Regions from separate parts of the Homo sapiens genome. Here regions 1, 2 and 4 are each linked to region 3. The links are contacts of gene promoters, found by promoter capture Hi-C in blood cells and fetal thymus (Javierre and others, 2016). All regions are on one chromosome and are shown on one strand. The core of a region is centred on a gene start or on the middle of the fragment in contact, and the rest is flanking DNA. Distances in the headings are between cores, read along the strand shown. Region 1 holds the start of ZNF229 (zinc finger protein 229). Region 2 overlaps ZNF225 (zinc finger protein 225). Region 3 holds the start of ZNF235 (zinc finger protein 235). Region 4 holds the start of ZNF284 (zinc finger protein 284).

What was found. The method cuts DNA at HindIII sites, captures the fragments that hold promoters and counts their contacts. A CHiCAGO score of 5 or more calls a contact.
Region 1: the fragment with the promoter of ZNF229 here is called in contact with the fragment with the promoter of ZNF235 in region 3 in 3 of 17 cell types (neutrophils, megakaryocytes and M1 macrophages); the score reaches 6.1 in neutrophils.
Region 2: a contact is called between a fragment that was not itself captured here and the fragment with the promoter of ZNF235 in region 3, in 3 of 17 cell types (total CD4 T cells, naive CD8 T cells and total B cells). The highest score is 7.2, in total CD4 T cells.
Region 4: a contact is called between the fragment with the promoter of ZNF284 here and the fragment with the promoter of ZNF235 in region 3, in 7 of 17 cell types (non-activated CD4 T cells, naive CD8 T cells, naive CD4 T cells and 4 more). The highest score is 7.2, in non-activated CD4 T cells.

Annotation. Positions count from the first base shown.
Region 1 is chr19:44,446,727-44,450,765 of GRCh38, reverse strand. It overlaps ZNF229 (zinc finger protein 229), which reads left to right and starts at 2,294. Exons shown (of 6, transcript NM_014518.4): 1 at 2,294-2,457; 2 at 3,166-3,253. The HindIII fragment of the contact is 11,359 bases long and covers 1-4,039 here.
Region 2 is chr19:44,128,751-44,132,588 of GRCh38, reverse strand. ZNF225 (zinc finger protein 225) reads right to left here. Exons shown (of 5, transcript NM_013362.4): 5 at 1-1,739. Among named protein-coding and RNA genes, the nearest start is that of ZNF234, 11 kb to the left of the region's middle. The HindIII fragment of the contact is 1,288 bases long and covers 1,781-3,068 here.
Region 3 is chr19:44,302,959-44,306,503 of GRCh38, reverse strand. ZNF235 (zinc finger protein 235) reads left to right here and starts at 1,479. Exons shown (of 5, transcript NM_004234.4): 1 at 1,479-1,533; 2 at 3,052-3,114. The coding sequence starts at 3,100. RefSeq lists enhancers at 1-64, 65-566, 1,143-1,696. The HindIII fragment of the contact is 5,796 bases long and covers 1-1,912 here.
Region 4 is chr19:44,070,534-44,074,010 of GRCh38, reverse strand. ZNF284 (zinc finger protein 284) reads right to left here and starts at 1,852. Exons shown (of 5, transcript NM_001037813.4): 1 at 1,720-1,852. The HindIII fragment of the contact is 12,821 bases long and covers 1-3,477 here.

The sequences.
Region 1 (4,039 bases), core at 1,045-3,544, 140 kb before region 3:
GGCCTTGGAATGGATTCATCTACCCACACTTTGTGCAGGTTGGCTCTTAGCTTCCAGGTCAAGACACCTTTTTAAAATAATTATTTTTATGTTTATTTTATTATTATTATTTTTTGAGATGGAGTCTTGCGCTGTCGCCCAGGCTAGAGTGCAGTGGTTTGATCTCGGCTCACTGCAAGCTCCTTCTCCCGGGTTCATACTATTCTCCTGCCTCAGCCTCCTGACTAGCTGTGACTACAGGCACCCCCCACCATGCCCGGCTAATTTTTTTTGTTTTCTTTTTTGTATTTTTAGTAGAGATGGGGTTTCACCGTGTTAGCCAGGATGGTCTCGATCTCCTGACCTCGTGATCTGCCTGCCTCGGCCTCCCAAAGTGCTCTGATTACAGGCATGAGCCACCGTGCCCGGCCAAGACACTTGATTGAATTGCTTAAGTGCTTCCCATGTGCCAGAGCCATGAAAGGTAAATAAAGAAAATAAAGAAAAAGAAGAGTCAATTATTTTGATGACTTAGAGATCTGACCATGGAGGCCATGTGAAAGGTGGTAACCAGCAATTTAAACCATGTGTTGCTGGATCCCAGAGTAATATAATTTATTGATTTCTCGGGGAAATGAGAATGTTCTGAGAGTGGTATTTAACATCCACTACACTCGCATGAAATTCTCCCAATCACAGACTGATCTGTTCATTGAATTATGATATAGAGTTCAAAAACACTCGATAGAGGAAATTATATTCAAGTTGTGTCTTAAATATGGAGTAAGATTTTAATAGTACAGGAAAGGATGGACTTACAGAGGGAAGAACAATAGCAGCAAATTCAGACATTTGTAAAACTGGAGGACACAGGATGGGAAGTAGGACTGTGTCTACCCAAGCAAAGAGGGGTGGGTTTGGAACCAAATATCTGAAGGGCTTGGATGCTTTGGAGTCAATTGGCAATTTTTTAGAATTTATCAAAACAATTCGATAATCTGTTTATAAGAGAGAGTTCTAGAACTTCTAGGATGAAATTTTTGAAACACAACAAGGAGGGAGAGATAAGGAAATGAGTTATCACTGTAACTGAAACCTTTCATCATGGCACAGAAAAAGCAATCTCTATCTTCAGAACACACTTGTATCCCAGAAAATATTTCATTATATATATAGTAATGTAGTAAGTGATTAGGATGCCGTTTAAATCAGAAAGGAAAGAATTAATATTTATGTAAATTTTGTTAAGAAAAGTAGACAATCCTTTGGTGAAACAGGAAACTCCATCTTCCTTTCATATCATACACTTAAATGAATCACGCGGTGATTCAAAAGAAAAATGAAAGAGCCTGAAATGAATATAGATATGCACTTATTGGGAATCAGGCTAAGGAATGTCTTTTTGGTCATACTGGAGAAAAAAAAGAAGCCACAAATGAAAAGACTGATATACCTTGTCAGATGAAGTTTTTTGTTTTTTTTTTTTTCTAAACTACTTTATAAATGTTGAAACTGGGGGAGCAATTCATCACTTAGAAGCGATATCATTCATACACAGAGAGTGTATGACAATAAAAGATGACAATGAAATGCAATCGGTAATAAGCATATTTACTCTGTCAAATTGGGAAAATAAGACAGGATATTTAGTCCATCAAATTGGGAAAATATTAAAGAAAGTGATTGTGTGTAGTTTTGATATCATAAAATTAGAAGTGTAAGTTCAATGCAGGACAAAGGGGTAACTTCCCTAAAAACTAAAGAATGCTAGGCAAGTATTGCAAATAATTTGTGTTTTTTTATTATCTCTATGTATCTCTACGTCTTTTGTGACATACAGAACTATCCACGATATATGACCTGTGGCAAGAAATGATTACAAAATATTATGATGCCATTTGGGAAATGGGATTCTTAAGAATTCATATTTACTCACATAAACCAGGGATTAAGTAAGAATTTTTTTTAAACCATTCTTTACATGTAATATGAACTACTTTTGAAATAAATATTTAGTTGGCTTTTACACCAGAAAATCAATAATGCTTTATATCCCTGGTGATGGGATGATGGGCTTGTTTGAGAATATAGTCAGGTTTGCTACAACGCGAATATGTTAGTACTGAGTAAAGACATTCTTTTCAACTCAGAAACACCTTGCATGCCGCCTCCCGCCGCCTCGCAGTGGGCGTGACTCGAGGTGGACGCGCATTTACGACACCATCGCCCCTAGGATCGGACTGCGCTGCGGAGGGTTCTGGGAAAGGTAGTCCCACACCTCGAGTCGACTACTTCCGTTTCCGGTGGGCGCGTCACCTTGATTGCTTCTTAGGCAGTGGTGAGGCGTCTTAGAGACGTGCATCTCCATGCGGTTGTACTGTCAGGCCATGGGAATTAGGATCGGCTCTATAGGACCAGTGTGAAGGGACAACGTGCGGCGGAGGGTCGAAGCCCACGGATTTCCATGAGCTCGGCCTGGTGAGGCAGGGGTGTAAGGAGGCGCACGTATCGAACATTCTGAGCGCCTGTGCGGGGTGGGCCCGGGTCGGCAGCCCTCGCAGTCCAGGCTTGGAAAAGCAGTTTGAGGCCAGCTCTGGCTTTGAGATGAGATCTGCAGTGCGGGAGACTCCACTGTGTCAGTTGCGGATCGATGACATGAATTTTCTCAGGGTAGCCGCCCACCCACTTGTGGAGTAATTTCAGAGTTTTCTGCGAAGTCATTTCTGTAAACAGGAAGTTGATTCCCTGTGTTCTAATTTTATCCTTTGAAATGTATTAAGCGCTGTGCAAGTCCTAGGAGTTGGTTTGCTGTATCGTTGCTGGCTCTGCTTTTTGTAGCCGCCTAAGCACACACAGGCAGAATTTCACTTGTAAGTGTCCCACAGCATGTGACAGTCAGCTCTGGATTAAAATCTTGAGATTTTGTCTTGATTCTCCTTGTCTCCTGAAAGGGGCAGTGAAAGTAGGCTTGTAGACGGTTTCTTTGGGCATCAGGAATGGCGTGTCCCTTGTACTCTGAGTCCTGTAGGAAGAGAGGTTCTTTTCCTCGGCTCCTGAAGCAAGTAGCGAGGGTAGATTACAGGAAGGGGTAGATTACATCCAGCTGGCACTGAGAGATTTCCCCCTGTGGCGTGGTGGGAATTGGGATTAAATCATGTTATCCTGCTGTTCATTTTTCTTTCACAGGCTTCCTTCTTGGAATTGTTCGTTTCTCGGAGATAATTGTATAAAAGAAGGAGAAATAACCCCACATCTCTTGACACTAGAGCTCCAGGTGAGTGAACTTTGGTTCTCTTTTGTGGCAATGCCAGGTCTCTTGGTGACCTCATTCTTCATCCCATTGATATCACAAATGTTCATTCAGACCCCTTAGCCACACCTGCCTTCCCCTAGAAATGGGGGAGGTTTGAGGAATTTCCCAGTGTCTTTATTTAGTGTATTCTCTTCTTGGCTCCTAGTAGTGTGTCACTGGGTCAGTAAAGGCTTACACTGTTTCAGCGCCATGCTGAAGAAACGCAGGGTAGAAATAATTAGAGTAACTGTGATGGTGTATATTAACTGAGTGCTTACTATATGCCAGGTATTATTTATCCATGGTGTCTAGGACAGTGCCAGGCTTGCCAATAAATATTTGAATAAATGAATGTATTTCTATTGAATTTTCTGAGCAAGTTTGTATGTTAGCTATTATCCCCATGTCACAGATGAGTTGCTAAGGTTTAAAAAGTTAAAAAAACTTAACAGGTAAGACCTGGCCAGGAGACCTTCTAAACAGAAACCAGGTCTTTGCGCTTATGCTTCCTTCTGGACTTGTCTCATCCCAGCTTTTTTCACAGCTGATTTATTTGTCAGGCAGCTCTTAGAGACTGTCCCTGACCACCTGATTTAATGTTGCTCTTTCCACAGCTGCCACATATGTTCACCTGATAGCACCTACATTCTTGTTGGAAAACAGGAATCTATCATGTTTGCTTTATTTTCTTCATAGCCCTTTTTGCAACCAAAGGTCACCTAATTTGTAGAGAGATTAACCCACCCGAAAGTAAGCACCATGAGAACA
Region 2 (3,838 bases), core at 1,175-3,674, 170 kb after region 3:
CCCACAGTCCTCACATTGAAGTAGTTTTTCTCTACTGTGGAGTCTCTGATGGGTTAGATGAGTTGAGGCCCATCTGAAGCTCTTTCCACACTTCTCACATTTGTATGGCTTTTCCCCAGTGTGAACCCTCTGATGGGAATGAAGCTGTGAATTCTCAGTAAATCTCTTCCCACACTCTTCACATTTGAATGGCTTTTCATCACCATGGAGTCTCTTATGATTCAAAATACTTGAGGCCCGGCTAAAGCTCTTCCCACATTCTTTACAATTATAAGGTCTCTCTCCGGTGTGGACCCTCTGGTGCATGTCAAGATTAAACTTACTGTTGAAGCCCTTCCCACACTCTTCACATTTGTATGGCTTTACTCCAGTGTGGACTCTGCGATGAGAATAAAGTTGTGAATTCTGAGTAAATCTTTTCCCACACTCTTCACATTTGAATGGTTTTTCTCCACTGTGGACTCTACGATGGGTATAAAGTTGTGAATTCTGAGTAAATCTTTTCCCACATTCTTCACATTTAAATGGTTTTTCTCCACTGTGGATTCTCTGATGATTCAAAAGACACGAGGCCCAGCCAAAGCTCTTCCCACATTCCTTACAATTATAGGGTTTCTCTCCTCTGTGGACCCTCTGATGAAAGTCAAGATCCAACCTCCTTTTGTAGCCCTTCCCACACTCCTCACATCTATATGGCTTTTCTCCACTGTGCGCTCTCTGGTGAGAATAACGTTGTGAATTTGTATAAAATCCCTTCCCACATTCTTCACATTTGAATGTTGTCTCTCCACTGTGGACTCGCACATGTCTTGAAAGACCTGAGGCCCATCTGAAGCTCTTTCCACATTCTTTACAATTATATGGCTTCTCCCCTGTGTGGTCTATCTGATGCTTATAAAGATCTTGCCTATAAATGAAGCGTTTTCCACATTCCTCACATTTGTACCGTTTCTCTCCTGTGTGGACCATGCGATGACTATTAAGTGCTGATTTCAGACCAAAGCTCTTACCACATGTATCACATCTGAATGGTTTCTCTCGCATGTGAACCATGGAATGCCTATTAAGATTTGCTCTACTACGGAAGCTCTTACAACATATATCACATTTGAATGGCTTCTCCCCAGTATGGATTCTTTGATGTTCCTGAAGCTGGGAATCATGAATGAAGGCCTTCCCACATTTCTCACAAATATGAGGTTTCACTCCTGTGTGTAATTTACGATGAACATAAAGTCCTGATCTACGACTAAAGCCTTTCCCACACTGCTCACATTTGAATGGTTTCTCTCCAGTGTGGATTCTCTGATGAATTTGCAGATGTGAGCTCTGATTGAATTCCTTACCACACACATCACAATTATAGAGTTTCTCCCCCATGTGAACTCTCTGATGAATACGAAGAGCTGAGCTATAACAGAAACTCTTTCCACATTCATCACATGTATGAGACTTCTCTCTTGACTGTAGTTGTTGATGAAGATCAAGGACGGAGACATCACTAAAGGACTTTTTACACGTCCTACCCTCAGAAGGTTTCTGTCTTACGTGAATTATAGATAGTCCTGCATCAACCTGGCAGGGCATATCATCTTGTTTGGAGAACTGAAAGCTGTTTACCATGGAGTCTTGAAACCTGGTTAAGTCACTTGAAATTTGTTCCCAGGTTTGATGACTGAACAAGCCTTCATGTGTTCCTGATTCTGAAACAGTCTCCATCTCCATTTGGATCTTGCCTCCTATAATGACACAGAATTAAGAGATGTGGGCAAGTAAAGCTTTTATTCAGTGTTATCAAGATTTCATACTTAGGACATAGCCTGAAATTTTAATAAATATAGGGAATGTTCAGATTGTATTTTCCTTTTTTTTTTTTTTTTTTTTTTTTGAGATGGAGTCTCGCTCTGTCCCCCAGGCTGGAGTGCAGTGGCGTGATCTCCGCTCACTGCAAGCTCCACCTCCTGGGTTGTTCACACCATTCTCCCGCCTCAGCCTCCTCAGTAGCTGGGACTATAGGCGCCCGCCACCACGCCCAGCTAATTTTTTGTATTCTTAGTACAGATGGGTTTTCACTGTGTTAGCCAGGATGGTCTCGATCTCCTGACCTCGTGATCCGCCCTCCTCAGCCTCCCAAAGTGCTGGGATTACAGGTGTAAGCCACTGCGCCCAGCCCTGTATTTTCCTTTTTTAAAGAGAGTGTCTCCCTCTGTCACCCAGGCTGGAGTGCAGGGACACAATCATGGCTCGCTGCAGCCTTGACCTCCTGGGCTCAAGTGATCCTCCCACCTCTGCCTCCTGAGTAGCTAGGACTACAGGCACATACCACCATAACTAGCTAATTTTTACACTTTTTGTAGAGACAAGGTCTTGCTATGTTGCCAAGGCTGGTCTTGAACTCCTGGCCACAAGTGATACTCCCATTTTGGCCTCCCAAAGTGCTGGGATTACAGGCTTGAGCCACTGTGCCCAGCCAATGTGTTTTCCAGGTACACTATGGACTCTGGTTTGCATGAGACCAATTCAGAACCACACCACGTGTCATATGTGAAATACTTGGTAGAAATAAAACCTTGCATGGTAAATTATGTAACTAATAAATTATGTAAACAGTGAAATATGAATCAAATGTGAACTTTAAGGAGAAGCCATAACATCGTCAAAACTTTGTATATTTTAGTTTGTATTGTATATCCTTATGAAGTAAAGAAATTATCCTAAGTCACAAAGAGGCCTGGGTGATGTCCTCAGCATCTGAGAGGCAATCTCTCAGTCCTTAAAATGTCATGCCCTAGGAGAGTGTCTTTGTTTGCCTGGAGGTAGTAGGTCTAGTAAGTCACTCTGGACGGTGTAATTCTACGATTTAGGATTATGGGTGGCCACACCTATGAGGAGAATGTGGTGCTCACTATGTGAGAAAGACCAACAATGTGATTTATGGTGAGGCTTTAGGTCATGTGGAATCAGTCAACCAGGAGACTGAGACTACTCATACGGGAAAGAAATCAACCAATAATGGCTATGTAATTAACAGACAACGATTACTCTGAATACCAGGGCTCAGGAAAGCTTCCCTGATAGGCTCTCCTCCCGTCTAATGTCACACCTTAATCTTGGGGATGTAATGCATCCTGATTTCATGGGGAGAGTACAATAAAAAGTTCTCATTTGATACTTCCCTGGACTCTGTCTTACTTGATTTTTCTCCTAATTGTAATATGCATCTTTCCCCTATAAAAACCCATAATTTTAAGAATATGGAACATGAAAATAATTTGGGGAAACCACTGAATTTGTCATTGGTATGCAGTGACAGCAGTCTTCTGTGAGCTGTCACTTTAAACTTTGCAATTGGTTAAGCTCTTCACAATACTAAATATCAAATACCTAGGAGTATTTATGTCTACATTTTCAGAGTATTCCTGTACAAGAATTTTTGCAGAACATGTATAATCTCATTTGTCTGTACTGATATGAACAATAACTTGGTTACCTGAAATAGAAAAGGATCAGAAACCTTCAGTTTTGATGGGAATCTGAAAGGCTGGACCTGACAGAAATACACAAAGGGGGATGATCCTGATGAGACAATGAAAGTTGGTAAGATCACCTGGGATGAAAAGAACGCCTAAGGGGTCATGCCCTGATTGGTTCCATGTGAAGTTATTGGACTGTCTCATTGAAAACAGATAGCAGAAAAAATATGATGTAAAGAAACAGACCTTTATACCCATTTTCAAAATAAACACTACAGACTCTTAGTGAGCTGTAAAATAAATCTGAAACCTTCTAAAAAGCATTTAGGAAAAAGAACCAGAATAGAAATTATCATAGCATCGTG
Region 3 (3,545 bases), core at 230-2,729:
GAGACACAAGCTGCTGGACGTTGAGAGGAGAGCATTGGCGGACACACAAACAGCTGGCTGTCGAGAGGCTGTCGAGGGGAGCGGGTCGGCAAAAGAGCACACTGAAGAGACCGGCAGGCCAGCAGGCCATTAACCGGTGGAATAACGCAGTTTGGCCTGGGTAGTCGGAGGAGCGCCCAGGCCGCTGAGAGGCTGACTCCAGGCGAAAACCATCTCCCTTCTGGCTCCCCCTTCTGCTGAGAGCTACTTACAAATCGTTCTCCAAGGTTTCTCCAATCCTTGCACTCTTTCTCCAAGCCTATGTGTGATGCGATTCTTCTGGTACACCAAGGCAAGAACCTCTGGGATACAGAAAGCCCTCTCTTGCTTGCGATAAGTCAGGGGTCTAATTGAGCTAACACAAGCCTCCTACAGATGGCTGAACTAAAAAAGCACCCTATAACACACGCCCACTGGGGCTTCAGGAGCTGTAAACATTCACCCCTAGACACTGCCGTGGGGTTGGAGCCCTACAACCTGCCCGTGTGCATGCTCCCCTAGAGGTTTGAGCGGCTGGGCACGAAGAAGCGAGCCACACCCCATCACATGCCCTGGGAGAGGGAGAAGTGAACTTTTCCCGTTTCATCACAATTTACTTTCGGCACTAACATGATTGTTCAGCTGTCTTCATCAGCAGGCCTTTATTCCAGGAGATTCCTGCCCAAGCAAACTGTTTAATTGTTCATTATGGGAACTTCCACAGAGACCCATCAAATTTTCAATCTCTTCCAAAGAAAGTGTCAATAGATTGCAATTTAAGATTCTTTGCTTCAAAAATCCTTGCTATATCCACCAATCCTGGACTGTAGTATCATGATCATTATGCAATACTAATAAAATCCCTTGCATTGAAAGACCCGCCTTAAACATCCAGTTCTCAATCAGTTCCAACCTTGCCTTGACACTTTGCTCTGTGAAGGTGCCAACGCTCCGTCGAAGTGTTGTTCTCCATTACTGCAATCAACAATAAATTCTGTTTTTTGTCTTATCAACAGGTTGAGTTGATGATATTTGGGGAGCCGGCATTTGACACAAGTTTGAGATCTGGTGTTCCTTAACGTTCAGCGTCCATCGGAGCTCAGCCTAAGTCACTTTTACGCTTCCCATTTTAGCCTACCCTCTGCTTCTGCGAAAAATTTTGGTTTCTAACTTATTTTAATAATACAAGCTGCACTTTTCATTTTTATATGTCATCACTTTAAAAATTTTACAATTATTTTCTCATGAGCTTTTAAAAATGAATAAAACAAAAACGAATCTCACAGTAGTAGCACCAGAGAAGTGGCTCAAACCCAACCGGCTTGAGTCAAAACAAAGCCCAGCTGGTGGGAAGCGCTGCCCTTGGAGCATTCTGGGAACTGTAGTCCAGGAGTGAGAGAACTCTGAGACGCTTCCGCTTAGGAATTCTGGGAAGTGGAGTCCACGAACCGTGGGCACTCGGAGGCACTTCCGCTCCAGGAAGGCGAGGTCGGATCTGAGATATCTCCCAGGGAGGTGAGTCAGCTCCGGGTCTCCAAGACTTCTCCGAGCCCTCTTTGCCTAGGCGTGGGGCCAGCAATGAACCCGTCCTTGGCTTGGGGAAGAGAAGCCGCGGCCAGCGCTGGAGGGCGGGGTTGGGAGGCTGCGGGAGTTTGCGTCCCCTCGGCAGAACCTCTTGCGTGGGAGGCGGGCTCGCGTCGTCCTTCGAGGTTGAGGGTCTGCTGCCCTAGCCGTCCTCACGCACCTACCAGCCAGTCCTGCCTGCTCCTCGCAGTAAAATATTGGGCAAGTTACTTAATCTCTCCTTGTCTCAGTTTCCTCGTGCCTGTAAAGGGTTAGTGCGTTCCCAGTGATGTTCTTGTGAGAATTAAATGAGGTTTTATAGAAATAAGCTTAAAACCAGTGCATAGGAAAATGTTGGATGCCACCGTTAATTCTGTTATAATACTGAAAAAGACGCCTGTTGTTTGGAAACTCCTCTGAGTCTAGGAGATCCAGCTACGGAGCCGCTGTCCCTTCTCTAATCCTTGCCTGATGTGGGGCCGTTCCTGGATTCTTGGACTTTTCTAGCCTCTTGTTTAGGAGACAGGAATTAGTTCCAGCGGAGCCTGGGGAATGTCCTGTGTGTTTTATCTCAGATAAGCGATCGTCATTACGGATTTGCAGAGTGCCAGAGGTGTCCTGAGGCCCTAATAAATGTTCAGTATAATGTGGTTATAACCAATAATCCCGTGTGGTTAACTTAAGTGTAACACCATTTCTTAGAGAGTTTTAGGTTTTTATTAGTCATTGCTTTCATGCATGTGGAAAAAGAGACTTTCTTGAGGCTCCTCCAGCTTAGTAACATTTGCAAGTAATTACATCTGTTGGAGGAAAAAAAAACCTGTGGCAGTTTAACTATCATTACCAACGGAACTAATTATGTTAGACAACCAATCACAGTTACAGACTTTTCTGAGGGTAATGGTAACTCACAGGACAGAGCAATTATTTTTGAGTTCTGGGTTTCTTAAAAGATTCATTTTCTAGAAAGCATACTCAAAAGGGCAGTTTTATGAAGCATAATAGCACTTGCTTGTCAGAAGCTGCAGGAAATAGAGAATACAGGCATTATTATTGTCCCCATTCACAGGTAACTGAATTAAGGCACAGAGAGATTAATAATTCGCTTAAGGTTTATACTGCTGATCAGTTGAAAATAGGTAGAAATGCCAAAATTTGAAGCCAGGCATTTTGGCTCTGTTACATTCCCCTGCCTGTCTGTGTCTCATTTCCTTGGAAACTAAAGTTCAGAAGGAGTACACAGAGAGCTGTATTTGATTTAGGTCTGTTAATATGAAATGTTCATGAACAAAAGCAGCTGGTTGAGGGGGCCGAGGGGTAGCTGGGAGCTAGCTCCCGTTCTCCTCACTAAGCCGTGTGCAACTGTGTCTGCCTAGAGACAGGGGGACCTTTCTCTGAAGTGTCACATAAAAGTGCCATGGTGACTAATGCCATCCCTAACCTATCTCATGATGCCTTTCCCTCCCTCAGGTTCACTTCCCCGGAACTCTGCCTTTTCCCAGAAGGAGGAGGGGAAAAATGACCAAGTTCCAGGTAAGTTTGGTTTGCCTTTGTGTTTCTTAAAATGACATCTCATTTCACAAAGATTGGACACATTTTTCCTGTTTGGGAACAGTAAAAGGGAACGAAAGGCACTTGGAATGTTGTTATATGCCAGGTTGTTGCCTTTTATTTCAATATAATAGTATAAAAATTAACAGAGAGATATATATATATCTGTTAATTTCTAAAATATATTTCTATATAATTATATATTTATATATACGTATATATTTTATATTTATATACAAATATATATGTATATATTTATAAGAAATATACGTATATTTGTATATATGTATTATATATACAAATATATACGTATATTTTATATAAATGTATACAATATATACGTATATTTTATATAAATATATACGTATATATGTATATATTTATATATAAATATATACATATATACGTATATA
Region 4 (3,477 bases), core at 603-3,102, 230 kb after region 3:
ATGATATAACATGTAAGTTCACTAGCTATTTCCCTCTTGGCAGTGTTTCCAAATTTCCATAGTTAAACACATAAGGGAAAACACATTTTTTTAATCATAAAATTTTGTTTAAATGTTTATAAATAAATATGCAAATATGCCAAAGAAAGACCAAAAAGAAATGCACCGGGTGCGGTGGCTCACGCCTGTAATCCCAGCACTTTGGGAGGCCGAGGCTGGTGGATCATGAGGTCAGGAGATCAAGACCATCCTGGCTAACACGGTGAAACCTCATCTCTACTAAAACTACAAAAAAATTAGCCGGGCGTGGTGGCGGGCGCCTGTGGTCCCAGCTACTCACACAGGAGGCTGAGGCAGGAGAATGGCGTGAACCTGGGAGGCGGAGTTAGCAGTGAGCCGAGATCGTGCCACTGCACTCCAGCCTGGGCAACACAGTGAGACTCTGTCTCAAAAAAAAAAAAAAAATGCACTCGAAGTTTAACAGTTACTATCTTTACATGCTGGATTCATGGGTAATTATAAACTTGTACTACTCGTATTTCTCCAATTTCTGAACGCTCCACAATCATACCGCTGCATAACAAGTGAAATATTTGTAATAAATGAAATAGTTCTAATGAATGAAATAGTTGATAAACTCCCAGAACAGTCCAAGCCCATAAGCCTTGCTCTCAAGGCTCCCTTCAATCAAGTCCTAGCTTGCTTTCCCCACTAGATTCCAGCTAGTTCCTCTGCCTCAATGAGAATGTATCCAAAAGATTATCAACTAAGGCTCTGACCTGTAACGCCCAGGTTTCAACCGCAGCTCCACCTCTTACTGCTTAGGTGACTATTCTCAGATAACTCCTGCTCCTTTGTATCTCACTCATCTTTAAAACTGAAAAAAGTAGTACCTCTCCACAGAGCCACGGTGTGGCGAAAATGTGACTACTTGTATAAAGCTCTTGGGATAAAGTTACCAATTGAGGCTTAATTATTATCAACACCCATGCCTGAGGACACATCCTACACTCTTGGTCGGGGTGAGCATCTCTGTAAAAGAAAAAAAGCCAAGGACCACTCTCGTGGAACTTTGCCCTCAGTAGCCAAGAAGTCCCTCCCTGCAGCTCTTTTTGAGAATCAGGCTGGGGAAGGAGAAAGCTGTGAAACACCCTGACCGCATTGCCGTCCGGCATAAAAGTTAAATGTTCCTCTCCCTTCGTGGAAATGGAAACAACCCTCGCCTTCCTAAAAAGAGGTCAGAAGCGTCCGGGATCACCCAGCGTCCTGCAGGAATCAGAGACAAGGGCGGGGATCCCTGCAGATGGAGCTCTGACCCCACCCGGGGACCTGACAGGCTTCGTGGGAAATAAACACTAAGAAGAGACCACCAGTCACTAAGGGAGGGGCTGCTTTAAGGCTTTCATTTGTGTTACCTCTTCCAGTTCCCAAAACGATTTCATTAGGATGGTCCTAAAGTCCCCATTTTAAAGAACAGCAGTGGGAGGTACAGGGAGATTAATAACATCCCAACCCTAAATTGTGAGAAAGTAGCCTCACAGGTGGGATGGAGGGAGGCGGACTGAGCGAGCTGAGAGCCCCAAAAACCCTCAAACCAGGCGAGACGCGTCCCGACCAAGTCCCAACCCCCAGCCTCATGCCCGGGGACGCGAGGACAGCCCCAAGACCAAGAAGGCTCCGCTGACAAGAACGAAAAGAGAGGCCGTTGTCCCTCCAAACCTCCGTTTTCCAACGAGACTCCTTCTCCCCTTAGTCAACTTCCAGGTGGTTGCGAGCCAGCATCGTAAGGGGACACGTTTAGAAGGACCGACAAGACACAGGACTGACACCAAACTACCACCGAATGCACTGCAGCAACCTCGCCCCCCGGGAGCGGAAGTGCCCCTACCCCGCGCAGCGTGTGAACTACATTTCCCAGAATTCCCCGGATACGCCGTCCTGAGCCTACTTGCTCGTCATTCAACAGATCTCCTGCGCTACACTTCCTTGAATCTCAAAGGAGACGTTCTATAGTATCACCTTCCGGCGGGAAGCGTGGGACTCCGCGGTGCTCTTTGACTACACTTCCTGCAATGCCCACGAGGAATGAATCCCATAGACCCAAGCGCCTGGTTTGGAATATGGACTGTGGCCCTGAGAGTGGTCCTTCCCTCTCCCTGCGTCCTCGAGAGAAAATATTGAATAGACAGGAATTCCTGAAGTCTACACGCCTCCCATGATGACAGGAGTGTTACTGAAAGAGAACAAAGCAAGGAGATACAATCTTCAAGGAGTTAGCGGGGAGTGACTGTGGAGCGGTCAGGAGATGGCTGAAAGGCTAATATACTAGACGCTAATAGTATGAGGCTAAATCTAAGAGCTTAAATAATGGGCCAGGAAAAATGGTTTGGGAGAGGCATTGAGTGGGGCACCAGCCCCTGGTACAACCAGACACTGTTGTACCACTGGTTTGGCAAGAAAAACAACCACAGTTTAAGTGTTTAAGAGGGCTGTAAGAGTTAAAGAGAAAAAAAAAAAAAACACGAAAAGCGGCTCAACAGTCAAAGACAGGTTCGTTTTGGAGAATAAACCGAGAGGGCCTTCTGGCCGATTGCAGTCAGGAGCGCTCTCTCTTACGGACTAAGAGTATGTATTGGCTTTAGGGAGAGAGAGCTTACCACAGGCTTAGAATGTTTCTGTATTGGGGAGAAGTCTGTTGTGGGGTTGGAATATCTCTGGTTGGAGGGGAAGTTATCTTGGGACTGACATCTCTCCAATGGAAGGGAGGTTATCTCGGTGCTGGCATGTCTCTGGTCAGGGAGGGGTTTATCTTATGGTTGGAATGTTTCTGATTGGAGATGTCATTTGTGGTTTATGGTCATGCTGACCTTAGCCATTAGGCTGATGCCCTTTGGATTTAGGCAGTTTTTGATCAACGCGAACTTTAAAATGGCAGTGTTTGTCCAAGATGGCGATGCTCCTGCCCTGTCAAGGGCCAATATGGAGGGCCAATTGCCCTCCTGGAAAAGCTATCTTCCCACTTTTAAAGTTTTCATATTAATATTCTTTAGACGTGGAAATGCCACATTTAAGAGAAATTAAACTGCTTAGTATTGTGAAAGGAAAATATCTTGGGCCCCCAAAATCACTAAGGAAATCTCAAGCTGGAAATCGCTTAGGGCAAACCTGCCTCCCATTCTATTCAAAGTCACTCCTCTATCTGTCCTTGCTATCACGAGAACAGCATGGGAAAGACCCACTCCCATGATTCAATTACCTCCTACTAGGTCCCTTTCATGATATGTGGGAATTATGGGAGCTATAATTCAAGATGAGATTTGGGTGGAGACACAGCCAAACCGTATCAGTATGTGTAGATTTCTTATTTTCCATTATTACTTAAAAGAAAGCACGTTTCTAACTCTTCTATGGTCATGTAACAACATATCCTAGAAATCACTTCATGTACAGTACATTCTTTTTAGTGCTGCGTAAACT